7 separate regions of the Homo sapiens genome follow, and all the other regions are linked to region 1. Evidence: promoter capture Hi-C in 16 types of primary human blood cells and fetal thymus (Javierre and others, 2016). All regions are on one chromosome and are shown on one strand. Each heading gives the region's core, a stretch centred on a gene start or on the middle of the fragment in contact. The rest is flanking DNA. Distances are from core to core; before and after follow the strand shown.

What was found. Contacts are between HindIII fragments. The CHiCAGO score rates a contact against its expected background, and 5 or more counts as called.
Region 2: a fragment that was not itself captured here is called in contact with the fragment with the promoter of METTL6 in region 1 in 6 of 17 cell types (activated CD4 T cells, naive CD8 T cells, naive B cells and 3 more); the score reaches 7.0 in activated CD4 T cells.
Region 3: a fragment that was not itself captured here is called in contact with the fragment with the promoter of METTL6 in region 1 in 8 of 17 cell types (naive CD8 T cells, fetal thymus, activated CD4 T cells and 5 more); the score reaches 7.9 in naive CD8 T cells.
Region 4: a fragment that was not itself captured here is called in contact with the fragment with the promoter of METTL6 in region 1 in 1 of 17 cell types (naive B cells); the score reaches 5.2 in naive B cells.
Region 5: a fragment that was not itself captured here is called in contact with the fragment with the promoter of METTL6 in region 1 in 12 of 17 cell types (monocytes, total B cells, naive B cells and 9 more); the score reaches 8.5 in monocytes.
Region 6: a contact is called between a fragment that was not itself captured here and the fragment with the promoter of METTL6 in region 1, in 1 of 17 cell types (monocytes). The highest score is 6.3, in monocytes.
Region 7: a fragment that was not itself captured here is called in contact with the fragment with the promoter of METTL6 in region 1 in 5 of 17 cell types (M2 macrophages, M1 macrophages, M0 macrophages and 2 more); the score reaches 6.7 in M2 macrophages.

Annotation. Positions count from the first base shown.
Region 1 is chr3:15,425,632-15,429,602 of GRCh38, forward strand. METTL6 (methyltransferase 6, tRNA N3-cytidine) reads right to left here and starts at 1,913. Exons shown (of 6, transcript NM_152396.4): 1 at 1,771-1,913; 2 at 656-1,004. The coding sequence starts at 880. EAF1 (ELL associated factor 1) reads left to right here and starts at 1,967. Exons shown (of 6, transcript NM_033083.7): 1 at 1,967-2,251. The coding sequence starts at 2,149. RefSeq lists a silencer at 1,884-2,047 and an enhancer at 2,044-2,323. The HindIII fragment of the contact is 9,714 bases long and covers 1-3,971 here.
Region 2 is chr3:15,194,100-15,198,070 of GRCh38, forward strand. It overlaps the pseudogene COL6A4P1. Among named protein-coding and RNA genes, the nearest start is that of CAPN7, 10 kb to the right of the region's middle. The HindIII fragment of the contact is 736 bases long and covers 1,810-2,545 here.
Region 3 is chr3:15,212,042-15,216,012 of GRCh38, forward strand. It overlaps CAPN7 (calpain 7), which reads left to right. Exons shown (of 21, transcript NM_014296.3): 2 at 63-171. Among named protein-coding and RNA genes, the nearest start is that of CAPN7, 7.8 kb to the left of the region's middle. The HindIII fragment of the contact is 7,625 bases long and covers 1-3,971 here.
Region 4 is chr3:15,235,029-15,238,999 of GRCh38, forward strand. It overlaps CAPN7 (calpain 7), which reads left to right. Exons shown (of 21, transcript NM_014296.3): 12 at 1-117. Among named protein-coding and RNA genes, the nearest start is that of SH3BP5-AS1, 17 kb to the right of the region's middle. The HindIII fragment of the contact is 3,544 bases long and covers 414-3,957 here.
Region 5 is chr3:15,250,971-15,254,941 of GRCh38, forward strand. CAPN7 (calpain 7) reads left to right here. Exons shown (of 21, transcript NM_014296.3): 20 at 1-53; 21 at 146-1,946. The coding sequence ends at 290. It overlaps SH3BP5 (SH3 domain binding protein 5), which reads right to left. Exons shown (of 9, transcript NM_004844.5): 9 at 3,383-3,971. SH3BP5-AS1 (SH3BP5 antisense RNA 1) reads left to right here and starts at 3,214. Exons shown (of 3, transcript NR_046084.1): 1 at 3,214-3,971. The HindIII fragment of the contact is 1,756 bases long and covers 1,844-3,599 here.
Region 6 is chr3:15,271,793-15,275,763 of GRCh38, forward strand. All of the region lies in intron 3 of SH3BP5 (SH3 domain binding protein 5), which reads right to left. Among named protein-coding and RNA genes, the nearest start is that of SH3BP5-AS1, 20 kb to the left of the region's middle. The HindIII fragment of the contact is 9,619 bases long and covers 1-3,971 here.
Region 7 is chr3:15,567,656-15,571,626 of GRCh38, forward strand. HACL1 (2-hydroxyacyl-CoA lyase 1) reads right to left here. Exons shown (of 17, transcript NM_012260.4): 13 at 777-931; 14 at 189-347. Among named protein-coding and RNA genes, the nearest start is that of HACL1, 32 kb to the right of the region's middle. The HindIII fragment of the contact is 4,200 bases long and covers 1-3,971 here.

The DNA.
Region 1 (3,971 bases), core at 663-3,162:
CTTGGCTAATTCATGTTGACTATTCACAGGCACAAGCCGCCTGCCTCAGCCTCTGGAGTAGCTGGCAATAGCCACCAGACCTGGCTCTTGAATTTAATATATAATGTTTACAACTATCAGATCAGCTTAAAGAAATAGAAAACACCCACTAAAGTTCTCTCTCCTATATGTTAACCAAACCAGAAACTGCTAAAACTTTGGTGTTAAGACCAAACAGTATATTTCTCTCCTAAAACGCAAAGCATTTTGATAGGCTTCTTAAATTCTCTACTTCGCACTCTCCCTAGGAATGCAATACAGCACACCTCTTCACATTTTTTTTTCTTTTGAGACAGAGTCTCGTTCTGTCACCAGGCTGGAGTGCAGTGGCACAATCTCGGCTCACTGCTATCTCCGCCTCCCGGGTTCAAGCGATTCTCCTGCCTCAGCCTTCCAAGTAGCTGGGACTACAGGCGAGCACCACCACACCCAGCTAATTTTTGTATTTTTAGTAAAGACGGGGTTTCATCATGTTGGCCAGGATGGTCTCGATCTCTTGACTTCGTGATCCGCCTGCCTTGGCCTCCCCAAGTACTGGGATTACAGGCATGAGCCATGGCACCCTCTTCACATTTTAAATGAAGAACAGCTCAGATAAGGCGTAATATTAGCTTACCTCTCTACATGATCTTAGCTCCTCAAACTCTCTGGTGGTCCAGTGTCTGTCTTTGAAGAAATTAGTGCTATTTCTTTTGTAAAAAAGATCCCAATTTTTCTGAGCCTCTTGTTCCAATTTCTGCTGTTTAAAATCAGACACCAAAGTTTGGTCTCTTTTCAGTTTCTCCTCTTCTTCAGAGGTGAGAATCCTTGCCTGCAGCCCTTTCCTTTGCAAAGAAGCCATCTCTGAAACTGACGGTAACACTTAACACAGCTGAAGATTCTCCATCACCAAATAATATGAATCCACGCTAATGGATCAGATACATTTCCTGAGGTGAGTTTCACGCCTCAAACAGCACAGGGGGCTTCGCAGAGAAAAGAATTAGATTCTGGTTAGTGGTTACAGTTCAAGACGCCAGGTTCAATTCACCAAATGTTTATGAGATGCAGACTGTACAAAAAAAAATCCTTCCCGCTATATGAGAGGTCACAAAGAAGACAAACACACAGTCCCTACCTTCAGTGGGCTTACATTCATTTCAGTGGCCAGACTATCTCATGCACCATACTTTTATTCAAACCAGATGAGTCAACTATTACAATAAATCGATTTAGTTTACGAAAAAGGACGCTCTCAAGAACTGACTGGGAAACCTTGCGAAGAAAATATTCCTCAATTTTCGGTGCCCGCGAAAGGGGTGACTTAAAAACCACAATGGCCTTAGCTGGAAGCGGGTGGTCAATTGTCAGATACAAGTGAGGTCATCGTTTCCCAAGGGTCGGACCTCCGTTTTTTCGGGGGAAATGAAGCTAAGCCTGGGTGGGCTCATTTCCTGATCACACTCACAAGAGGCTGTCATAGGAACCAGAGGGAGCGTCACTTTGCAGGGACTGAGACCCTCGCACCGCCATCACCGGGCAAAGTGGAGAAAGAGACCCAATGACGCGTGGCTGAGGTCCCGAGGATCCATCTCAGGACCCTCAGGATAGACTAGGCTGCATGGGCCCCTAGACCCTGAGGAGGGCGTCCATGATGGCTAGCCGACCCGCGTTAATTTAGTCAGCCACGCTCAGGGCTCACCGTCATCAGTTCCTAAATTCACCTGCAGGGCTAGGGCCAGGCGCACTCACCCCACAGCCAGCCCCACTGGGCCTCGGAGGCAGAATACGGGAAGAACCGCGAAACAACCCTAAACCAATTCTGAGGACCACGAATTCGGATTATCCGGGAGTTCTTTTGCCATGGCACCGCCCCCGCCACTTCCGCTAGGAACCCGGAAGTTCCTACCCGACGCCGGAAGTCCCACGGCCTTGCCTCCTCAGATTCCTCTCTCACCCCCACGCAGAGGAGAGAACTTGCTTCTGGACCCGGGTGGGTGCCGGCTCGGCTCTCCTTGTCTTCCAGAGCGGTGGCCCGGAAGCACAGTCCTCCCAGACGCCAGCGCCAGAAGCTCGGATCGCGGCTGCACCGGGAGAGCGCCGATCTGGGTGCGAGGCAGGTGCGGGGCCATGAATGGGACCGCAAACCCGCTGCTGGACCGCGAGGAACATTGCCTGAGGCTCGGGGAGAGCTTCGAGAAGCGGCCGCGGGCCTCCTTCCACACTATTCGTTGTAAGTCAGCGCTCCCCACGGTTCCCTTCGGCCGCTCCAGCCGCCACATATCAACCTTGACTCCTTCCTTTCTTCCCTCGGCCCTTCAGATTCCAGGGAACCCCCTGCCAGCGTCAGTTACTTTCTCTCGAACCCCAAATCCTTTGGGACATCGATTTGTCCCTTCTTTTACCCAGATTATTTCTCCCAAATCTTCGTCACTCCCTACTATTCTTCTACCTCACAGTCTCAAACACTAGTTCCAAAGGTCTTTGGCCTCTTTCCATTTCCATCCCTCCCCGCCCCCAACCTCGCCCCTAAGGCAAACCTCCCTCCCCCAAGGCAAACCTCCCCCCTCTTATCCGGGTCCACTTCTCCCTCGAAACCCCTCCCCTCCTTTCCGATGCTCCCATCAGGGTTCTCCACATTTAAAAGACGCTTCTTGTTTGTTATGAGCCTCATCCACTGCCTTAGAACCCATTCTCTTCCCTGCTTTTCTCCTCCGACTTGGTCCTGGACTCCCAAATACTGTGCTTTGTCCCCTCTACAGCCAAAGAATTGGCATCCTCTCTGCGCCTCATCAGAGTCTTCTTCCATCTCCTTTCTGTGCTTCATTTGACTTGGATGTCTTTTGAGGTCACCTATACCACCCGGGCTTTTCCTCCAGACCAAGTTCCTTGTGGGTAAAGAGTCAAATCAGAGTTCGTGAGCCTGGGATAGGTTAAAGATTGGTCTACGTTTGGAAGCAGAAGAGAGCAGGCGTAAGGAATGTCCAAATAGTCATTATGCCGGACCTTTTTCTACATAATTATAGACGCTGTTGAGAGAGTGCACTTCCACCCTATGTCCTGGGTGAAGGTTTGGCAGTTAGGAATTGGCTGACAGAGCATCCCTCCGTGATTCATGAACTTCTGGTTTCCGTGGTGCTAACGCTGTTGTTAAGACTTGTTTTTGTCAGAGGACCTAATAGATGTGACTCAACACATGTGAAGAGGGCGTTTTAGATAATGAAATCCCATCTTTGTGTAGTCACTTGCCATGCCATTGCTATGCTTCCTACTGACAGCAGATCCAGCTCTTTCAGAGAGAAGAGATGGGAATAAGATAAGAACATCATTTCCTGAAGAGTTTACTAAGTTGATGTTTTCTTTTGGTGAAGGGCAATGTGGAATTTAAATCATATAGTTCATGTGTGCACCTGTCCTGCAGTTTGAGGCAGGTGTGAATGTGAATTAAGATGGCTATTATGTTGTATTCTAACTGCAGTTTAGAAACACGAGCAGGATAACTTGCGGAGATACAGTTCAGTTGTCTGCTATGAACATCTACGAAGTGTCTTTGTTAAAGCTGTGGAACTGGCTGAGAGTGGTGGCTGACACTATAATCCCAGTACTTTGGGAGGCCGAGGTCGACAGATAGCTTGAGCCCAGGAGTTTGAGACCAGCCTGGGCAGCATAGTGAGACCCCATCACTATTAAAAAAAAAAAAAAACAAAAAACAGCTATGGAACTTGAGTATGGCAAATCCTAATTTTGACAGTTTCTATGCGGAATGAAATCAGCTTTTGATGATGCTGTGGCCTTTCATATTTCATATAGAGTTTACAGTCACAGAATCTGTTTCATATGCTGTTACTTTTGATCCTCACAACCCTAAAAAAGCAACTTATTATGGATGATGAGACAATTTTCCTCTCTCCCTTGGGAGAAGGGAATATCTTTGTTTAATAAAATGGCCTGTA
Region 2 (3,971 bases), core at 928-3,427, 230 kb before region 1:
AACAGAAAAACAGTCCATGCTCATGGATAGGAAGACTCAATATCGTGAAAATGGCCATACTGCCCAAAGTAATATATAGATTCAATGCTATTCCCATCAAGCTACCATTGACTTTCTTCACAGAATTAGAAAAAACTACTTTAAATTTCATATGGAACCAAAAAAGAGCCCATATAGCCAAGACAATCCTAAGCAAAACGAAGAAAGTTGGAGGCATCATGCTACCTGACTTCAAACTATACTACAAGGCTACAGTAACCAAACAGCATGGTACTGGTACCAAAACAGATATATAGACCAATGGAACAGAACAGAGTCCTCAGAAATAACGCCACACATCCACAACCACCTGATCTTTGACAAACCTAACAAAAACAGCCAATGGGGAAAGGATTCCCTATTTAATAAATGGTGCTGGGAAAACTGGCTAGCCATATGTAGAAAGCTGAAACTGGATCCCTTCCTTTCACCTTACACAAAAATTAACTCAAGATGGATTAAAGACTTAAACATAAGACCTAAAACCACGAAAACCCTAGAAGAAAACCTAGGCAATGCCATTCAGGACATAGGCATGGGCAAAGACTTCATAACTAAAACACCAAAAGCAAGGGCAACAAAACCCAAAATTGACAAGTAGGACCTAATTAAACTAAAGAGCTCCTGCACAGCAAAAGAAACTATCATCAAAATGAATAGGCAACATACAGAATGGAAGAAAATTTTTGCAATCTATCCATCTGAAAAAGAGCTACTATCCAGAATCTACAAGGAACTTAAACACATTTACATGAAAAAAAAACCCATTAAAAAGTAGGCAAAGGATATGAAAAGATACTTCTCAAAAGAAGACATTTATGTGGCCAAGAAACTATGAAAAAAAGCTTATCATCACTGGTCATTAGAGAATGCAAATCAAAACCACAATGAGATACCACCTCATGCCAGTTAGAATGGCGATCCTTAAAAAGTCAGGAAACAACAGATGCTGGAGAGGATGTGGAGAAATAAGGATGCTTTTACACTGTTGGTGGGAGTGTAAATTACTTCAACCACTGTGGAAGACAGTGTGACAATTCCTCAAGTATCTAGAACCAGAAATACCATTTGACCCAGCAATCCCATTACTGGGTATATACCCAAAGGATTATAAATCATTCTACTATGAAGACACATGCACATGTATGTTTATTGCAGCACAATTCATAATAGCAAAGACTTGGAACCAACCCAAATGACCATTAATGATAGATTGGATAAAGAAACTGTGGCACATATACCCTATGGAATATTATGCAGCCATAAAAAGAATGAGTTCATGTCCTTTGCAAGGACATGGATGAAGCTGGAAACCATAATTCTCAGCAAACTAACACAGGAACAGAAAACCAAACACTGCATGTTCTCATTCATAAGGTGGAGTTGAATAATGTGAATACATGGACACAGGGTGGGGAACATCATACACCAGGGCCTGTTGCGGGGTGGGGGGCTAGGGGAAGGAGAGCATTAGGAGAAATACCTAATGTAGACGACGGGTTGATGGGTACACCCAACCACCATGGCACATGTATACCTATGTAGCAAACCTGCACATTCTGCACATGTATATCCCAGAACTTAAAGTATAATAAAATAAATAAATAAATAAATAAATAAATAATAAAAACACAAAAAATCATAATGGATGGTTACTCTGCTCACTACCTAGGTCCAATGTACCCATGTAACAATCCTATACATGCATCCCTTGTATCTGAAATAAAAGCTGAAAACTTTTTTAAAAGTACACATACAAAAATTTTAAAAAGCTTAAGAACAACAACAATGAAAAAAAAAAACCATAACGTGGAAATTCTGGATTGCATTCAGAGACTGTGTAGATGGAATGGAAGTCTGAGCTGGTGGAACTGCTCTCAAGACAGGCGTAGTTTTATTTTGAGCTGAAAAGGTTCCGGCTTGAGTAGTAGCCATCCTGTTGATGTTTTAAATTCTACTCATACTAATATGGTTCCCTGTGCCTGGGAAAAACTGTGTATAAACCAACACAATTTCCACTTGTTGTGTAATAGGAATATCTGCTACAGCAAAATTTCTTTTGAAAAGGGAGAAAACAATCTTATTTTCTATTTCTACTGAATAAACCAGCTTGCAATCATCTGAAAAGAATAAACTTCCTTAATTTGATGCCATTATACATTTAACCTTTGGGAATTTGTGAAGTGGAAGCACTTTCAAGTTCCTGCTCTGGAAGAGGACTGTGAATACTATTTTAGCCATCAGCCACGTAGAAGCTGTAACTACTAAAACAATGCAAATTATGTCATCCAGTCCAAGGTGTCTAGATGATAAGAGCAAGGTACAAGTGAGTGGCATTTTATGATTTAGCCTCATAAGTTAGATGGTAGCACTTCCACTATACACTATTAGTCAAGGCAGTCACAAAGTTATGTCCAGGATGCATGGTAGGGGACAAAGATCCTACCGCTTAAAAGAAGGGACATGAAGATACCCTTGTAAGGAGATCACGTGGGATGTAAGATAAAGCTTTTGGCCTATTTGTAAAATACAGTCTGCCACAGTTTGCTTTCTGGCCATATTTCTCATGCCTCCCACATGCAAAATACATTCAAATCACACCCCTAGAATTCTCAAGTCTCAAACTATTAAAACATCAGCTTGAAGTCCAGGAGCTTGTCATCTAAATCAGGTTCAGGTGAAGATGAGATGCCTTGGTGTGGTTCATTTGGGTGCAGCTCCTTAAATATCACTCCTTTTGATTAGAGCTCTGTTAAAGAGACAATCTGCACCCCCCCCCCCGCCCACACACACACCCAACGCACAGTGATAAGAGGCATAAGATGATCCCTATAGGAAAATCCTACTCGAAAGGGAGGAAGAGGCAAGCACACTGCAATAATCTAGAAAAATTCTGAAATGCAGTTTGGTATATGCTTCCAGTTCCTTATCAAGATTCAGTCCTACTGTCTGGGAGTTCTCTGTGAATTTCAAATTCCAAAACACATCTGGCTTAAGGGTGCAGTAAAGGATTGTGAAGCTGCACTCAGAGACTATAAGAAAAAGATGTGATAAACACTCCCATTGCCTATCAATGACTGAGCTCTTCAGAGGATGCTGTTGTTGCTTCTGTTTCCCAAGATGATCAGAGTTCAGGAAGTGGAATTCCAAGCAGCTCAGAGGTAAATGAGATAAGGGTTAAATGGTTCTGTAACCATTTCTTCTGCCCCTGCACTGACAGATTATCCCAAAAGAACACAGTCATGAAGAGTAAAGAGCACAGTCAAGTGTTGCAGGACATAACTTTGTCAAATACTTCATATGTGCCAGGTGTTGTGCTAAAGGCTTTACTGGCATTATCTCATTCAATCCTTCTAAAACTTTATGAGGTAGTTACTAATCTACCTATTTTACAGATGAGAAAAATTGAGGCTTAGAGATATTAATCAGTGTGCTGAAGGTTTGCAAAGTTAGAAAATGGTAACAAAATTGTGAAATGACTTTCTCCATCAATTTGCTTGTTTTCGTCATTAGAGTGGACATGAAAAAAATTTAATCTCTACATCAGCAGTCCCCAACCTTTTTGGTGTCAGGGACCAGTTCCATGAAAGACCATTTTTCCACAGACTGCGGGGATGGGGAGGGGATGATTCGAGCACACTACATTTATTGTGCACTTTGTTACTACTATTATTACATTGTAATATATGATGAAATAATTACACAATTCACATAATGCAGAATATGTGGGAGCCCTGAGCTTGTTTTCCTGCAACTAGATGGTCCCATCTGGGGGTGATGGAAGACAGTGACACCTGAAATGTGTTGCTTATGTCCAGTCTACTCCATAATCTCATTATGGTTTCTCTCACTACAAAAAACCCTGCTTCATAAAGATAGGATGTTAGAAATGGAAGCAGGCTTTTCAGTGCTTTTGTGGCAATCTCAGGCTA
Region 3 (3,971 bases), core at 397-2,896, 210 kb before region 1:
TGATAAAGAAAATTCAAGTTGTAATACATCTATTGGATTCCTTTGAATTCTTTCATTTTTAGGAAGCTGCACAAGCCTTAATTTATGCTGAGATGGCAGGATCAAGCCTAGAAAATATTCAAGAAAAAATAACTGAGTATCTGGAAAGAGTTCAAGCTCTACATTCAGCAGGTTAGTAAAGGACTACTAAACTTGTCACTCTATTTTTTCTTTTCTCCCATCATGTCTTTCCCCCATGTTTGTTTCTCTTCTTCATTTTTATCTTTGAATCTTGATGCTCACTCTGTTGCTGCTCATTCCACTTTTGGTAATCACCTCTTTAAAAGTCATTTAGAAATAAGTCATAGATCTTTGAAGAGGAACCTTATAGACAATATAGTCCAGTTTCCTAATTTCCCAGAGTGCAGAGATGGTGAATTACCTATGTTCAAACAATTTATCATTGGCAAAGTTAGGATTAGGATTCAGTTAAAGTCTGCTTTTAAAATATCTGTCACGTCTCTTCCTTATAAAATTAAGTGACTGTTCCTCTTCAGTGTTTACAGACTTCAGCAGTAGGTTCACAGTGTCTTCTCTTTCGGTGTCTTCTACTTTCAGACCTTTGCTAAACTCTTTAAAACCATATCTTGGGAAAGTGACATGTAAACAGAGACTTGGAACTACTTGTATTTATTTTTGTAAACAGCACAACAGGTACAATAATAGAAATATATAGTCTTAATGGTCACAGTTTTGTTAGAGGTAACTGATGTTGACATTGTATTTACAAATACATTGATTTCTGTAGGGATTCTTTTTAACCCTCTTTTTCTGTTGCTGCATGATAAAGCGCCAAGCAGAAGAATATTTATTCTCATGGACTTTGTGTAACTTTCTACCACTCATTTTGAGTAGATACGAGCAATTACAAGAACATCGTTGGGATAAAGTAGATTTAATCATTGGATTCCTTGTTATGACAGTTCCCTTAAAAACAAGGCGGTTTACTTTTAATACAGTGCCCAGAAATTGCATGTATTGAAAAGTGTACTGCCTGTGTTATTGGAACCTCACTTGATACAAAGTATTGATTCATGTATTCAAAATATCATATAAAATTCAAAGGAACTTTCTTTTCCCAGCCAAGTAAATGAAGTTCTTAAATTTAACTGCCCAATATTAGGAACTTTGTTTCATAACCAGTGTTTTCAAATAAAATTATCTTTGAAGTAGGGAAGGTAGTCTTTCATGTTTACTTCCATGATCTCCTTGTTTTTTCATAGATAGTTTTCTTCATTTCAATAACTATGTATTGAATACATGTTTGGGCTCTATGGTAAGTACAGGGTAATAGATGAGTGACAGTCCATGTCCTCAGGAGGACTTCATCAGGTGTGGAGAGAGAACAGTGTCAACATTGCACTATCATGGAAACCCCTTTCTGAAGCATGCTAGACTAAATGTTAAAGCAGAATGCTCTAGAAAGGAGAGATTATATGGTGATATTATTCCAGGAGTAGAATCTCTGGCAGCCTAAGGTATATTTCCATCTTTCTTTTCCATATGTACACACAGTCAAGCACATTTATGCCCTAGGGTCTTGATTCCAGTAAGATTGCTCTTTAAACCCTTGAAATCCTTGTGACAATTGGAAAAAATAAATATGAATCATTTTTTTCTAAGGAATTTTAAAAATTATTCTTACTTTATATTAAATACAGCTAAGCCTAAAAACTTACATGTGATTTTTGGGAAATAAATTCTAAACATTGATATATATGTGATATTCAAGCATCAAATGAGACACCCCAATCTCTTGAAGAATAAAGACTTGCCAGTGAAATAGAGTTCAAAAAGGATTTTTTTTTTTTTTTTTTGAGGTGGAGTCTCGTTCTGTCTTCCAGGCTGGAGTGCAGTGGCGCGATCTCAGCTCACTGCCAAGTTCCGCCTCCGGGGTTCACGCCATTCTCCTGCGTCAGCCTCCCCAGTAGCTGAGACTACAGGCGCCTGCCACCACACCCAGCTGATTTTTTATATTTTTAGTAGAGACAGGATTTCACCATGTTAGCCAGGATGGTCTCGATCTCCTGACCTCGTGATCCACCCGCCTCGGCCTCCCAAAGTGCTGGGATTACAGGCGTGAGCCACCATGCCTGGCCTTAAAAAGGATTTTTAAAGCATAACATAGCTTGTTTTACCAACTTCTTTCTGCTTTTGTTGAAGAAATGGAGTATAATCTCTAGACAATTTAAAGGATTTTCTTATTTATTATTTTAAGCAGAAAAGTCCTTTTTCAAATAAAAATCCTGTTAGGAACCCTAAGTTTTAAAACAAGATAGTCTGCTGACAGTTAAGAGAATCCTGAGAGAGAGTTGATTTTGGGGTGGGGAAAGGTAACATAATTTAAAATTAACCAGTATAGGCCGGCACAGTGGCTCATGCCTGTAATCCCAGCACTTTGGGAAGCTGAGGCAGGAGAATCCCTTGAATCTAGGAGTTCAAGATCAGCCTAGGCAACATAGACTTCACCCCTACAAAAATTGAAAAAATTTGCTGGGCATGGTGGTGTGTGCCTGTAGTCCCAGCTCCTCAGAGGTTGAGGCAGGAAGATTGCTTGAGCCCAGGAGGTTGAGGCTGCACTGACCCGTGATTACACCACTGCCCTCAGCCTGGATGACAGAGTAAGACCCTGTCTCGAAAAATAAAAAGTAAAATTAACCGTCGTAGTACAGAGTTCAAGACTTGGAATTAAAAGATCCCTGTTGAGTCTCTACCCTTTCACTTGTAGCTGTGAAATCTTAGACTAGATCAATGGGTCTCAGTAGAAAGCAATTTGCCCCCCAGGGGACATTTGGCAATTTCTGGAGAAGTTTTTGGTTTTCACGCTGCTGGGTGGCAAGGAATATGCTTCTGGGATTTAGCTGGGTAGAGGCCAAGGCTGTTGCTAAAAAGTCTCCCACAACAAAGAATTATCCAGCCCAAAATGTCAATAATGCCAGGCTGAGAAACACTGGGCTAGATATTTCAACATTTTTGAGCTTTGGTATCTTTTTCATCAATGGAATTAGTATATACTTCAGAGAGGCATTTAAGAAGGCTAAAGTTTTGAAAACATCAGCACAAACTGGGCACAGTGGTGAGTGCCTGTAGTTCCAGCCACTTGGGAGGCTAAGGCAGAAGGGTCACTTGAGCCCAGTAGTTTAAGAGTTTAAGGCCAGCCTGGGCAACCTAGTGAGACCGTGTATTTAAAAAAAAACCAAAAACACGTAACTTTAAAGAACTAACAAAATCTCAGACTTTTCTTAAATAGCAAGTTTAGCGAGATACAATTTCCATATCATAAAATTCACCCTCTTAAAGTATATAATTCAGGTGTTTTTAGCCTATTCCCAGAGTTGTGCAGTCATCCCCACTATCTAATTTTAGAAAGTTTTCATCACCCCAAGAGAAACCTCTTACCCATTAGCAGTCAATCCCCATTCCTCCCTCCCCCTAGCCACCACTAATCTTGTTGTTTCTATGGATTTGCCTATTGTGGATATTTCATACAAATGGAATCATCCAAAACATGGCCCTTTTGCCATGTGGCTTCTTTCACTGAGTTTAATGTTTGCAAGATTTTTCCATGTTGTAGATTGTATCAATACTTCATTGCTTTTTATGGCTGAGTAATATTTCATTGTATTGATGTGCTGCATTTTGTTTATCCGTTCATTAGTTTTTGGAGACATTTGGGTTGTTTACACCTTTTGGCTGTTATAAATAATGCAGTTAAGAACATTCATGTACACGCAGTGGCTCATGCCTGTAATCCCAGCACTTTGGGAGGCCAAGGCAGACAGATCACTTGAGGCCAGCAGTTTGAGACTAGCCTGGCCAACAGGGTGAAACCCCGTCTCTACTAAAAATACAAAAATTAGCCAAGCGTGATGGTGCACACATGTAGTCCCAGCTACTTGGGAGGCTGAGGCACAAGAATTGCTTGAAAACCC
Region 4 (3,971 bases), core at 936-3,435, 190 kb before region 1:
CACAAAGGAGATGTCCTCATCACTGCGTCAACTGGAATGATGACAGAAGCTGAAGGAGAGAAGTGGGGTCTGGTTCCCACACACGCATATGCTGTTTTGGATATTAGAGAGTTCAAGGTTTTGCCTTAAATCTTTTTCTTTTATTTTTCTTGTTGGATAAGACATTTCAGGGATCCCAGATAATTTATCAGACTTCTGAATACTGACAAATCAAGGTTTAAGTGGAGTTTATAAACCATTTCACCTACATTAACTTGATCTCTACCGTTGAAAATTATGAAATTAAAAGGTGGGAAAGGAAATCATAGGGATGGCACAGATACTGATGACAGAACAGAAATGCTGTTACACCTCTTTGTCTTTTCCATAAAACCAGCAGTTTTGAGGCGGAATACATAGCTTCCAAGATTCCAAGCTTCTTCTTCGTGTTTGGATCAATCACAGTGTTAAGCTCTAAAGCAGTGGTCGCCAACCTTTTTGGCATCAGGGATCCGTTTTGTGGAAGACAGTTTTTCCACAGACTGGGGGGTGGGTGGGAGCATGGTTTCAGGATAAAACTGTTTTACCTCAGATCATCAGGCATTAGATTCTCATAAGGGGAACACAGCTTAGATCTTTTGCATGCACAGTTCACAATAGGGTTCACACTCCTATGAGAATCTAATGCCACCACTGATCTGACAGGGGGCAGAGCTCAGGCTGTAATGCTCACTTGCCCACTGCTCACCTCCTGCTATGCGGCCCAGTTCCTAACAGGCCATGGACCAGTACCTGTCTGTGGCCCGGGGGTTGGGGACCCCTGCTCTAAAGCATAGTAGACACTGAATAAATACTTATGAAAGTGGGCCAGGCATGGTGGCTCACATTTATAATCCCGATACTTTGGGAAGCTGATGCAGAAGGATCTCTTGAGGCCAGGAGTTCGAGGCCAGGAGTTCAAAACCAGCCTGGGCAACATAGTAAGACCCCACCGCTACAAAAAATAAAAAAAAATTAGCTGGGCATGGTGCCATATATCTATAATTCCAGCTACTCAAGAGGCTGAGGTGGGAAGATTGCTTGAGCACAGAAGATCAAGGCTGCATTGAGCCATGATCACACCACTGTGCTTCAGCCTGAGTGATAGAGACCCTGTCTGAAAAAATAAAAAATTGTGAAAGGGGAAGAAAATAGGAAGATAGCTGGGCATAAGATACATGCCAGTGTGTTTTGTGTAAGCAAGTATTTTTCTTCCTAGAAGCCCTTGCATGCTGTCAGGCCTTTCAGACAGACCCTGTTTCTGCAATATCTGGTTAGAATATTTGACTTCATTACTTCTGAGGTTGTTGTTATTTTTAACTGAAAAATGGATTTGTTCTATGGATTCAAAAATAAAAAGATTATTAAACAAGTACTATTTCTTAATGAAGGACCCTTGATAACAGAACGAATAGAAGTAGTGATCAGTCAGCAATAACAGAGCACTACTGTGTGTTAATTAGACTGGTTTTCTTATGTGTGGCACATGGATTTACAGTCACGTGTTGCTTAATGATGAGTGTACATTCTAAGAAATGCATTGTTAGGTGATTTTGTTGTGGCATGAACATCATAAAATGTACTTACACAAACCTAGATGGTACAGCCTACTATACACCCAAGCTCTGTGGTATAGCCTAGTGCTCCTAGACTACAAACCTGTACAGCATGTTATTGTATTGAATACTGTAGGCAGTTATAACAACTTGGTATTTGTATATCTGAACATAGAAAAACACAGTAAAAATACAGTATAAAAGATTTTGTTAAATGGTACACCTGTATAGGGCACTTACATGGTTGGAGCTTGCAGGACTGGAAGTTGCTTTGGGTGAGTGAGTGAGTGGTGAGTGAATGGGAAAGCCTAGGACATTGCTGTACACTACTGTAGACTTTATGAATGCTAGACATGTAGACTTTATAAAAATATTTTTTTCTTCAATAATGAATTGTTCTAAGCCAGTCAAATCATCAGTGGTGGTTGTATACCAACTTTAGTGATATGTTATTAATAAGTTCTGATTAACCCATTACCATCGGAGCAGCCCAATAATAAATTAACCTTGGCTTACTGTAATTTTTTACTTTATAAACTTTAAATTTTTTTTAACTTTCTGGCTCTGTAATAACAACTAGCTGAAAACACAAACACATTGTAGAGCTGTACACAAGTACTTTACCTGAGCTTTTTTCTGTTAATTTTTTTTTAGGCTGTTTTCTTAAAATCCGAAACATAAACACACACATTAGCCTAGGCCCACATGGGGGCAGGATTATCAGGATGTCAATTGGCAATAGAACTTTTCCAGCTCCATTATAATCTTATGGAACCACTATGATATATGTAGTTCATCGCTGTCTTAACATTTCATTATATGGTGCATGACTGTATATGAAGTTAATGAGGACAGTAGGGACCTATTGCACCATTTTAAAATTTATAGTCTTGGAACTTTCTAAATTAGCTGGTCAGTGTTGAACCCCCCAGCCATGCTCTATAGAATTGCTTCTTTAAAAGTGGCATAAAAATTGCCCACTTAAAGCAAAAAATATAAAAATTATGTGAAATTAAGTACGCCAATAAGTTTGGGGTTTTTTAAAATTATAATTTGCCACAAATGCCAGTCAAAACATTTTAAGTGGCTGGGCACCGTGGGTCACCCCTATAATCCTAGCACTTTGGGAGGCTGAGGCAGGAGGAATGCTTGAGGCCACGAGTTCAAGACCAGCCTGAGCAACATAGCAAGACCCCATCTCTACAATAAATAATTTTTTAAAAAATTAGCTGGGCATGGTGGCACGTGCCTGTAGTCCCAGCTAATTGGGAGGCTGAGGTAGGAGGATCACTTGAGCCCAATGTTGCAGTGAGCTGAGATCACACCACTGCACTCCAGCCTAGTTGACACAGTGACACCCTGCCTCAAAAAATGTATATTTATATATAAAGGTTTTCTCCAGTACTCTTTTATTGGGTATATATTCAAGGAGTTTCCTAGGTGCATTATTTTTATTTTTTATTTTTTGCTACTTATATTTTGAAGTGTTTATTTAATTCTGACTTCTTTTTTTTTTTTTTTTTTTTTTTTTGAGACAGTCTCACTGTGTCGCCCAGGCTGGAGTGCAGTGGCGCGGTCTCAGCTCATTGCAAGCTCCGCCTCCCAGGTTCATGCCATTCTCCTGCCTCAGCCCCCCAAGTAGCTGAGACTACAGGCGCCCCACCACCACGCCCGGCCAATTTTTTATATTTTTAGTAGAGACAGGGTTTCTCCACGTTAGCCAGGATGGTCTCGATCTCCTGACCTCATGATCCACCCACCTTGGCCTCCCAAAGTGCTGGGATTACAGGCGTGAGCCCCCACGCCTGGCCAATTCTGACTTCTGTTTTAAAATATTTCCATATTTGATTCAAGCATTTATCTCTAGGACCTCTTTTTTGCAGAAAGACCTAATCTTAGACTCTGACAGCTCTGCTCAGTATTACATCATTGGTGACTTTCTTCACTTAAAGAGATTTTCAATATTTATTAATATTTGCATAAAAGTGCTATCATTTTTGTTTGACTACCTCTAATCTGCTTGCATATTCCAAGGTCTTCATTTTAGTCTCAGCGATTCTCTCTTTGGGTCATTTTTGTGTTTTTGAGGTGATGTTTCATAGTCTACTATGGAGTTACATCTCCAGATCAGGGTGCTGACTTCAGTTCAGACAGGTGTTATCATAGAATTTCTGAAGCTGTCCAAGGCTTTTCCTTTGCTGCTACTTGGAAATAACTTTAGAAATTGGATGCTTCAGCAAAATCAAATTTTTTTTTTTTTTTTTTTTTTTTGTTCTCTAGCATTCCTTCTTTTTAGAGCTGGTTCTCTACCCATCCAAACAAAATCTACATCCATATCTTGGTGTCCTTGAATATCACTGATGCTGGGGGTCTGTCTCTGAAAAGCTTAGCAACAAT
Region 5 (3,971 bases), core at 1,472-3,971, 170 kb before region 1:
CTAGGAGATCCTGGTCCCCATGGCTTTCTGAGGAAATCTAGTGGTGACTATAGGTAATGTTGGCATTTTTATTGTATCTATTTTATACTTTACTTTTTGTGGCATCATCTTCTATAAACCTTATTCTCATTTTCTCTAAATATAGGTGTGGGTTTTGCTACCTGGAATTAGAAAATATACCTTCTGGGATCTTCAATATCATTCCTAGTACCTTTTTGCCTAAACAAGAAGGACCTTTTTTCTTGGACTTTAATAGTATTATCCCCATCAAGATCACACAACTTCAGTGATGGAGAAATCTCAAGTTACTGGCTTTTATACTTACCAAACATCAGTTCTTCAAATAAGGACGCAAATCTTCAGGACAGTAAGCAGAACAATCAGAATGGAATTAAATCTCTAAAAACGTGTTACAGTGGAATCTGGTGCTTGTCAGGGTGTTTGGTAAGAACTGTATATAGTCAGAATTACCTAAATCACCTAGAGGTACCGTTTACATGGTTTTGTGTATATAGAGTTGGCTTGCATTTTAGGGGCCATTTTGTATAAAAAGTGCATATGATTAAAATTAGACTCAGTCATCACTGTGAGATGCCTTTGCTAAGAGGATAAAGGAACTGAGACCAGATGAGAAAAAGAAAGGATATAGATTCCTTGAGTGGAATAGTGGGCTAGATTAATATACCGAAATATTTCCATTGTTTCCCTTTTTTGCAGAGCATGTGGAAGTTAAACCTGCTTGATTCTACTATACATCTTGGGCAACTAGTTACCAAATGAATTGTGCCACCATAACTGATTTTAATTTTGCATTATTTATGATTTTAAAATATTTGTTGCCCAGGTGTTATGAAAGAATAAAGCTTTTAAGTATAGACTACCTTAGCATGAAGATGCTCATGCCTAAGAATGAAAATTGTTGAGGTTATCTCCCATTCAATCATGTAGCAAGAACTTAAAGAAATTCACTACTGCAGTTTTTATTTTTAAAAAACAGTAATTGAGATATTGAAGACATTACAATTTAGTTTGTGTGGTCTTTTTTTAAATTGCTGTATCGTTCAGTCTCTTGTGGCAATAGCACTTTGAAGAAAATAGAGAATTTAATATATGGTGATTGGGATATGTAGCATTCAAAAAAAGTGAATTGCCAAGATACTGGTGTCATGTAAATTCCCACTTTACATAAAAACCCATCAGGACAGAATGATGCTCAATATTTTAAAATTCTAAAAATAGGGTGGGATTTTTCATTGTCTCTACTTTATAATTATCAAAACTTATTTTGTATTGCTACTACCTTAAATTGAAATAAAATGTTTATACTTACGGATATTGCATAGTTTAAGTTAGATTTATTGAAAGATTTCATCTGTCGTGTTTCATGTAAATGAGAACAGATTATTTGCATGAAAATATATACTTCAACAAAAATCTGTTCTTTAACAGAGTAGTGGTAGATTATTACACTAATGAGATTTCACTTTGGTAAATACTTCATGCTTTCAGTTTTAGCCTATTAATTTTAGGTGGACAAATTTAACAAGTTTTCTGTTACTTTTTAAAAAGAAAAAATCCAGAACATAAGAACTATATTATGAACACATGATTTGAACCTGTTGTGGTAAAGATCTTGTACAGGATGCAAACTAAAAACCTAATCCCTGCCATCAAATTTATTAGAAGAGACCTATATATGAACAACTTAAAGGCACTGATTTCTATAATAGAGCTCTAAAAACATGCCACCAGTGTATGAATAAGGGAAAGATTAATTTTGGCTGGACCAATATAAAAAATTGTATTTGAAGAATTGATACTTTAACTTGGACCTTGAAGGTAAAGCTTCAAAAGACAGGTTACTGACCATTGAGTGTTTACTATGTACCCAATGTGTATATTTTTCTTTTTAATCTTCCCAATAGCTGAATAAAGTATAGATACTATTATTTGTACTTCTTACAATTGAGGAAATAAGCCTAAGAGATTAAAAGATTTTGCCCAGGGTTCACAAGCCTTCTTCCCTGAGCCCTGATTGAGCTGCTGTGTGTGTCTAATGGCACCCACAGTCACGGCCGTCTAGTCGAGGGAGGGACAAGATCTAGACCCATTGTAGAGGGAGGAAAAACAATCCAGGCCTTTTGGAGGTTCTAAATAACAGACAGACCAGTTGAATTGTTAGAGAGGATGACTCAAGTTTCTAATTCAGCACATGGACAGATGCTCATAGCTTCAGTGAAAGGTAAGTTTTGACACATTAAATTGCCCAGAAAATCCAGATCTGGAATCAACGTGGTATAGTAAGTGAGATCACCCAAAAAGTCAAGAGTCACGTGAACTAAAGATGGTTAAGAACTGATTTGGGGGAAGTTTTTTAGAAAGTATTTCTAATTTAGAAAAAAATACATAGACTAACAGGAGATACAAGAAAACGAGGGTTGGGGGAGGATTAAGAAGCCCAGTGAACAGAATTCCCAGAAGAGTATAATTAAATGTCAGATGTGGTGGAGATAAAGAGGCCACAGTGACAGCAGTAGGGGCAGACTACGTAAAACTAGAAATTTGACTAGGTGATAGTGTGAGAAGGGAGCCCTGGTCAAAAGGTGGTCTGCATCCTTTTCTGGTGTAGGAGACAAGCAAGTGGTAGGCTGATGGGAAAGGGGGATTGAGGCAGGAAACAAGAGAAATTCTTAATGCCCATAAGGAATACTCTAGTGCTACTGACTGACTGCCTAGGCTTTGTCTTTTGTAAAGACAAGGGAAAGAAAGCCCCAGTGTTAGAAAACTCCTTCCCACTTTCATTCTCTGCGAGAAGTACCTAGAAATTTCTAGTTATTAGACTGTATAACTTGACTCTGCTGTAAAAACTTTATCCTAGCTTGGGCTATTTTCCAGATGGTGTTTCTTCTAGGAGGAAAAAGAATTGCCTCAATTGCAGGGAAGTTTTTGCTAATGGTAAGTCAAGCAAGTCTCAGTGTCTTTACTACAGGTAAAAGGGTGTAAGGAGATTTTATGAGAACTGAATGAACCCTGAAGGTCACTAGTCAAATTCAGGTATGCTGTTAAGTGTTCTTGCTTGAGACCCAAATTACAAGACTGGCCAATTTTTGTATTTTTGGTAAAGACTGGGTTTCACTATGTTGCCCAGGCTGGTCTCGAACTCCTGGGCTCAAGTGATCCACCAGCCTTGGCCTCCCAAAGTGCTGGGATTACAGGCATGAGCCCTTGGGCCCAGCCGGCTGTTTAATGTTCTTAAATAGCACAAGGGACTTCTATGAACTTTCCTAGATGAAATATTTATTAACTACTAGGTAAAACACTTGTTTGATACTGCAAAGGGTTATTTCTGAAACTTAAACCTCATGATTGGCCAACCAAGAACTTTTTCTCCACAGCATGCTTTAATAATGAAATGCGGATTAAGAGTCCAATATTATAAAACATTTCCACAAAAGAAAGAATCCATCTGATTCTCAACTCTGAATGCACATTTGAATTCCCTCGGGGAGCTTTTAAAAGTCTAATGCCCCAGTGTACCCCCCCCAGTTAATTAATTAAATAATTCTCTGGGGATGAGAACTGACTGACAGCAACACTTAAGCTTCGAGACTGCAGTGTGCAGCCGAGGCCCACTCCTCCAGCGTCACCACCTCGTCTTTATCTGCCACTGTGTCTCCTCATTGCCCACAGCTTTAGCAACAGCAAAAGTAGAATTCAAACCTTGGTAAACAAGGCTTAAATTATTACTGTTCATGACCTTAATTAATTGAAAATGATTACTGGTGACCACAGCACTCCATGCTCTTCCTTATGGAAAAAGGGTTGCCTAGAAGATTTAGGCAATACTGGGAGTTCTTATTTGAAGTCACAGAAAGGAGAAACTTTTCTCAAGCCGTTTTTATTACACTTAGTGTATTAAGACAAGTACAAAATAACCTTGTAATTAAGATACTGTATCAGTCAAAAAAGAA
Region 6 (3,971 bases), core at 1-2,500, 150 kb before region 1:
AGTAGATACCTTTACCCCAAGATGGGCCATGTGATGGCAGCTGTGTGACTGCATGAGAAATCAGCACTGAAACATCACAGTCACCACTCTACAGGCTCACCTTGAATTCCCCAGCAGGGTAGAAGCCACAAACCCGCCTCTGCAGCGTCCCACCACCCTCCCTCGTCCCACCACCCTCCCTCGGTTAACCACATCCCCAAGTCAGTTACATAAGCCCTGGTGGGACGTCCCTAAGGCAGCCCCTGGGACTCGGGAAGAGGGGAACTACAGGGACCCCACCCTTCCCCAAGCAATTCTTGCATGACTTCGAGGAAGTCTTCAGAAACCACAGGCTGAGGACGCTTTGTGAAGAAGGTTAAAGAAGGGGGAACAAAAAAATCAGAGACTCAGAGCACGCCAGCCCCCAAGGCAAAGAACAGCTTTTCCCGAGCACTCTGTGATTGTGTACTGCATACCAGACCCAGACCCAGCCCTCCAGGCGACGATGACAATCAGATGGAGACCCGAACCAAGCATGGAGTGGACACTCAGAAGTCTGTAATACAACGCTGTATGTGACAGTGCCACAGCAGGAAGGGAGGAATGGCAGGGAATGTGAAGGAGAAATTATTTCCAGTACAAAGAACCAAGGAAGGCCTCTTAAAGGAGGAGGATCCCGAACTCAGGACTAAGGACACAAATGATTTGAAAACATGGGCTGATGAGGTGGGGGACAGAAGGAAGGATTTGAGACTCTAAAGACATTACAAAACAGAGTGCCTGTAGGATAAAGACATTACAAAACAGAGTGCCTGTAGGATAAAGACATTACAAAACAGAGTGCCCGTAGGATAAAGACATATTACAAAACAGAGTGCCTGTAGGATAAAGACATTACAAAACAGAGTGCCTGTAGGATAAAGACATTACAAAACAGAGTGCCTGTAGGAGATTCGATGATACCTCAGATCAAATTTTTAAAAAGGACTCCAGTGAAGACCTTGAATGAATGCCAGGCTAAACCTTCAACCAAAGTGGCCCAGGGACCTGCCCCTGCTGTGGACTCACCATGTGGCCCTGGGACCAGTCGCCCACTTCCACTCAGGTGTGCCTCAGCTACACAAGGAGAACAAGGATGCCCACCCTCCCTAGAGCTGACCAACTCACCCCCCCAACCCCTGCCCCACCTCGTGCCTCCAGGCCCATTAGTGGTTCTTAGTTCTTTCATGTGAGGACAGCCCTGCAGGGCCTCCGCAGGCCAAGCTGCTGGGAACGAGAGGAAGCAGAGGGAACCTGTCACCTTAAAAGCCACTCCACCCCCTACCCATAGGTGGCCTCTCCTACCTATATGCTTCACACCAACTCCAGGAGACAGGATGAATCCCACAGGATCCTAAAATGGGATTTGTATTTGCCTTTTTAGGAATTTTTTAGTATTTCAATTCAGCAACATTTAAGGGTAAACTCTCTTCTCCCAGTTCTCTCTGCTTCAGTTATGAATCCCTTATTTCTTCAAGCAAGAAAAGATGCTCTTTTGACGGCCTTCTGAAAGGTGGCTGCTGTACCACGGGCCCAGCACCTCTTCACACCCTCTGCCATGTATCTGATGAGTTCCAAATAAGAGAACCAGATCTCTACAAAGGAAAAGAGGAAGCCCATGTGAAGCTGCCTTTGAGAAGAACATGTGCTGTCAAATTCCGGACAAGCGTCTGAAGTTTCTGCGAGATTCCTTCTCCTGTACAGTGACATAGGATACATGTTTGCCTTGCCATATCACAGGTACAACTAATGTGAGGCCTCATTCCACATTTAACCCACAGAAACCAGATGCCATCTCTCCATAATTCATGCACTTACCGGTTCATTCACTCAAGTAAGCACTGGGCACCTGTCATGCCCCACTGTCTATTCTCTCTATTCGTTGTGGTCTCAAAGGGAGGCAATATCTCAGCTAAAGACCCTCACTTCCCAGCCCTCACTACAACTGGTCCCTCTGGTAAGTGACAGCTAATGAGAGGTAAATGAACACTGAGTGAGATTTCCAGGAAGGCTCCTGTTATGGACTGAATGTTTGTGCCCACCCAAATTTACATATTGAAGCCCTAATCCCTAATGTGATTATATTAGGAAGTGGGGCCTTTGGGAGCCATATTAGTCCATTCTTGTACTGCTATAAAGAAATACCTATGGGCCGGGCATGGTGGCTCACGCCTGGAATCCCAGCACTTTGGGGAGGCCAAGGCAGGTGGATCACTTGAGGCCAGGAATTCAAGACTAGCCTGCCCAACATGGTGAAACACCGTCTCTACTAAAAATACAAAAAAATTAGCTGGGTGTGGTGGCAGAAGTCTATAGTCCCAGCTACTCGGGAGGCTGAGGCAGGAGAATCACCTGAACCCAGGAGGCGGAGGTTGCAGTGAGCTAAGATCACACCATTGCACTCTAGCCTGGGTGACAGAGCAAGACTCTAGCTCAACAAAAAAAAAAGAAAGAAAGAAAGAAAGAAATACCTGAGACTGCGTAATTTATAAAGAAAAGAGGCTTAATCGGCTCACAGTTCAGCAGGCTGTACAAGAAGCCTGATTCTGGTATCTGCTCAGCTTCTGGGGAGGCCTCAGGATACTTACAATCATGGCAGAAGGCAAAGGGGGAACAGGGCATCTCACAAAGTGCCTGGACTTGGATCCTGGGTGCGGGGAAAGTGCTACACACTTTTTTTTTGTTGGTTGGTTGGTTGTCTGAGACTGAATCTCACTCTATCGCCCAGGCTGGAGTATAGTGGTGCGATCTTGGCTCAATGCAACCTCTGCCTCCCGGGTTCAAGTAATTCTCCTGCCTCAGCCTCCTGAGTAGCTGGGACTACAGGTCCATGCCACCACCACTGGACAGTCTCCCTGCCAGCAATACATGGCAAGAGTAGCTGCTAAGACACCAATAATAATTTTTGTATTTTTAGTAGAGACAGGGTTTCGCCATGTTGGCCAAGCCGGTCTCAAACTCCTGACCTCAGATGATCTACCTGCCTCGGCCTCCCAAAGTGCTGGGATTACAGGGTTGCAGGTGTGAGCCGCCACACCCAGTCGCTACACACTTTTAAACCAGATCTCATGAGAACTCATTGTCCAAACAACAGTGCTTGGGAGGTGGTGCTATACCATTCATGAGCAACAGCCTCCATGATTAAATCATCTCCCGCCAAGCCCCACCTCCAACATCGCTGATTACAATTCGACAGGAGATTTGGGAGGGAGCACAGACCCAAACCTTATCAGGAAGTAATTAGGGTTAGATGAGGTCCTGAGGGTGGGACCCTCATGAGGAGATCAGTGCCCTTGTAAGAAGGGGAAGAGAGGGAGATCTCTCCCTCTGGTGCACTGAGGAAGCACCATGCTGTCAAAAGGTCTCCTAGGGAAGATTCTGCAAAGCAGGAGTGTATCAGGCAGCAGGCCAGGCCAAGACAGGAAGCACCAAAGAGTTTACACACTTATCTAACTGAGGAAAGTTTAACTGCGACATTGCTTCTCAGTGTCATCACAAAACACAGGACTTCCAAAGTCAGAAACCAATCAATTTCACAATCCCGGAGAGAGCTGGCTATCTGGTTCTCACCATCATATGAAAGATGACACCTAGAAATCTTTGGTACAACCGATAACATTTTACCTTCACATCGTAATAAAGGCCCCAGGCCCTGGTATTTAATACATTATTTGAATAGGGCTCTATGCTCTCAGGTCCTGTGGTGTGCACAAGTCATGCAGTGATTCACTCACAGCAGAGAAACCCAATGAGCCAGCGGAAGAAGTGAGGCCCTGCTTATAATAGTACTAAAGAGGAAAATGTTAGCAGAGCTTGGTTTGAGGTATAAGATGCAATACAGAAAAAATGTTAAATACCTTCATGACTTACAGACACTAACAGCTTTCATGGGAAGAGCTCCATGGAGAAAATTTTAAAAGGCAGCTTATGGGCTGGGCGCAGTAACACACCTG
Region 7 (3,971 bases), core at 763-3,262, 140 kb after region 1:
CCAGAAAGATACGGTTCTGGAAGAGAAAGACCGTGGGTTACTGCCACTAGCATCCTCAGGACAGAACACAGTGCTGTGCACAGGGCACCTGGTGAACGCTTCATAAGTATTTGTCAGGTGACTGGGTCTTGTGTGTCATTTTTCATATTCTAGAGAATCAAATGCTCTGATTCAGGATGATGTTTTACCTGCAGATGGTTTCTACCTCCATGCCAGAAAACCCAAATGCACTGTCTCCTTCCACACAGATGATCCATTGCCCAGGGCTTCTATCTTTAGCCACCACGGCAGCTGCAATAGCAAATCCCAAACCAACTCCCATTGTTCCGAAAGTACCAGCATCAAGCCTGTTGGAGAACAAAGTTAAAATGAAACCCTCTGGGGCATGTCATAGAGGATGGGATTGGCACAAACCTTCTAGTCATATTTACATGGTTGATGGAAAAATGAAGAACCATAAAAACATTCTCTTTCTTCAATATAAAATCTTTAGACTGCTAGGAACTAATTTGTCAAGGATAGAAAAAAGCCACCCATGTTTGCTTGGAAGACTATAAACATATTCCTAGAATACTAAGTAAACAATTATCATGATACCAAGAACACATCAAGCATAAAAACTCTACAAAACCTCACCTAAGGATACTTTTATGAAATATGTCCTTACATACTAAACATGTATTAATTCTCAAACGTCTTCTTAATCTGCACTATTACAGTTTCATATTAAACACATTATAATGAATTACGACTTCTTTCTTCTTTAGAAGTCTTACCTGTGACGAGGAAGGTAGTTCTGAAGCACAGTCCGTCCAATGTCCATAGTATTTGCTCCTTCACTTACCACGAAACAGTCTCTAGGTAGTTGTTCTTGAACATGGTAGAATACTGTGTAATAATTCATAGGCAGGGATTTTTTAGAAGCTAGTTCCTGAAAAGTAGATGGGAATATAATCAAATTAAATTGGGATACAATGAAAATAACCAATGTTAATAAGATGCTATCAAACTTATTTGGAAATACGCAACAACTACAAGCTACAAGGTTTCCAAATGGCTATAAAATGGCCACTCTGAGAAGTTGGCTGACCTGTGAACAGCCCTGGGGGACATGTGTACCACAGTCCCAGTTGGGAACACAATTAAATAAGCTCGGGAATATCCCGCCTCTTGGAGATCTGCAATGCACAGGAGTGTATTAAAGACATTGAGAAGTCCTACAGTAAAGACAGCTGAGAAGCACTGGGTTACATAAAACTAAACGTTCTTATTTGAGCACTCTTAGGAAAACGGTGCCTTAGAAAAAGTGAAATTTATTCCAGAATATTTTCATCTGAACTATGACCCTAAACTTAAAATGTCACAATTTTAGAATACAATCTGAAAATCTAGTTTTTCCCCCAACACACTTAAGAGTTAAAGGAGCTATCTTACCCCCACTATTCTAAAGAGTCCCTGAATGGAGAGAAAAACAGCAAGGTAAACGCCTTTGTCTAGCCACATGCCTTTCAGGGCTGAGAAAAAGCCATAGAGAGCTTTAGCAGCAACAGTCCCATCTGGCCCCAGGACTGCCTCTTCACCTATGCTACTTTGTTCTGCTGGAGATTATACACAAGGTAAAGAGGGACCCTCCTATACTCCTGCACTAAAGAAGAGAAGCAAGTCCCTTCTATCTTAAACCAACATCGTTCCTATGCGAAAGAAAAGATTAGTCATGATATGACTCAGGAAATAAAATTGAGACTGGTGGCCAGGCATGGTAGCTCACGCCTGTAATCCCAGCACTTTGGGAGGCCAAGGCGGGCGGATCACGAGGTTAGGAGTTCGAGATCATCCTGGCCAACATGGTGAAATCCTGTCTCTACTAAAAAAAATACAAAAATTGGCTGGGTGCGGTGGCTCACGCCTGTAATCCCAGCACTTTGGGAGGCCGAGGTGGGCAGGTCACCTGAGGTCGGGAGTTCGAGACCAGCCTGACCAACATGGAGAAGCTCTGTCTCTATTAAAAATACAAAATTAGTCAGGCATGGTGGCACATGCCTGTAATCCAGCTACTCGGGATGCTGAGGCAGGAGAATTGCATGAACCCAGGAGGCGGAGGTTGCGGTGAGCCAAGCTCGTGTCATTGCACTCCAGCCTGGGCAACAAAAGCAAGACTCCATCTCAAAAAAGAAAAAAAAAAAAAGTAGCCAGGCATGGTGCCAGCTACCTGTAATCCCAGCTACTCGGGAGGCTGAGGCAGGAGAATTGCTTGAAACTGGAAGGCAGAGGTTGCAGTGAGCTGAGATCGCGCCACTGCACTCCAGCCTGGGCAACAAGAGTGAAACTCCATCTCAAAAAAAAAAAAAAATTGAGACTGGCTCCAGATAGAAACAGTCATTGATTAAAATTCTAATGTAGGCCAGGCACGGTGGCTCATGCCTGTAATCCCAGCACTTTGGGAGGCCAAGGCGGGCGGATCACGAGGTCAAGAGATCAAGACCATCCTGGCCAACATGGTGAAACTCCATCTCTACCAAAAATACAAAAATTAGCTGGGCGTGGTGGCACACGTCTGTAGTCCCAGCTACTTGGGAGGCTGATGCAGGAGAATTGCTTAAACCTGCGAGGCAGAGGTTGCAGTGAGCCAAGATCACGCCATTGCACTCCAGCCCTCTAGCCTGGCGACAGAGTGAGACTCTGTCCCCAAAAAAAAAAAAAATTCCAATGTAAGACAGATTCATGTACAATCAATTCTGCTATAATGTTTGATGCGAAAATGTGAATTTATTCTAAGACAATTGATATATTAGGGAACCAAGTGAGCATAACTCAAATTTTATATTTGCTTATGCGTGATTCCACCAGTAAGAAACACTGGTGGAATCACGCATAAGACACAGAAAACTGCACCCAGCTGAACAAAGATACATATGAATACACAAAACAATAAAAAAAAACCACCTTTCTCACATAGGGAAAGCACAATACACACACATGCACACACACACACACACACTTTACTAGAAATCGCCAAATCCTGCAGCACTGACTCATTTTAGTGCTAGTAGTAGACAGTTTGATGGTTTCTAGTATCATCACTACAATTTCCAAAACCTTAGCTACCAGGCAAAGCCAAGAGTGCAAATGAGAGCGCTGCAAAAAAATTTCCAGCAGTGATAAAAATGTTAAATAAAAAAGAAGGCTATACATTGGATCAAAATTTCAATTTTTATGAAACAGCTATTATAATAGCACGCCCTGAAGGACCTATATCTTAAAAGCAGAAAAACATCTCAACCCAAGATTTAAGGATTCAAAAAAAAAAAAACCACTTAATAGTTAATTTGTTTTTCTTTTAGAGACAGGTTCTCACTCTGTCACCCAGGCTTGAGTGCAGTGGCATGATCTACTACTGCACTGCCACCTCAACTCCTAGAGTCAAGCAATCCTCCAACCTCAGCCTCCTGAGGAGACAAGACAACAGGTGTGTGCCACCACATCTGGCTTTTCTTTTTTTTTTTGTAGAGACAAGGTCTTGCTATGCCCAGGTTGGTCTCAAACTCCAGGCCTCAATTGATCTTACTGCCTTGGCCTCCTAAAGCACTAGGATTACAGGTGTTTAATTGTGATGTTCTATGCCACCATCAAACTGAAGGCACACCCATCCACTTCCACTATTATGACTTTCTATCCAATGTCCAATCACCTTCCTTCCACCAGCTCACAGTAACTCACAAGCTACAACCTTTCAGAAACTTCAGGTCTTTTTCAAGGTAAAATGCTATATTCATTGGCATATATTTCTTAACCATTTAACACGTTTAAAACATTAGGTTCTTATCTTATTTTTATGTTACACAAAGTTTTTGAGAGTTGTGCCACTAAATCCCTTTTTCCATGAGACCTGGGGTTTTCACTGCACAATTTTGCACATCAAGGTGATTTTTAGGAATGCACATGTCACATTACGGCAGAAGTAACTGAATCAT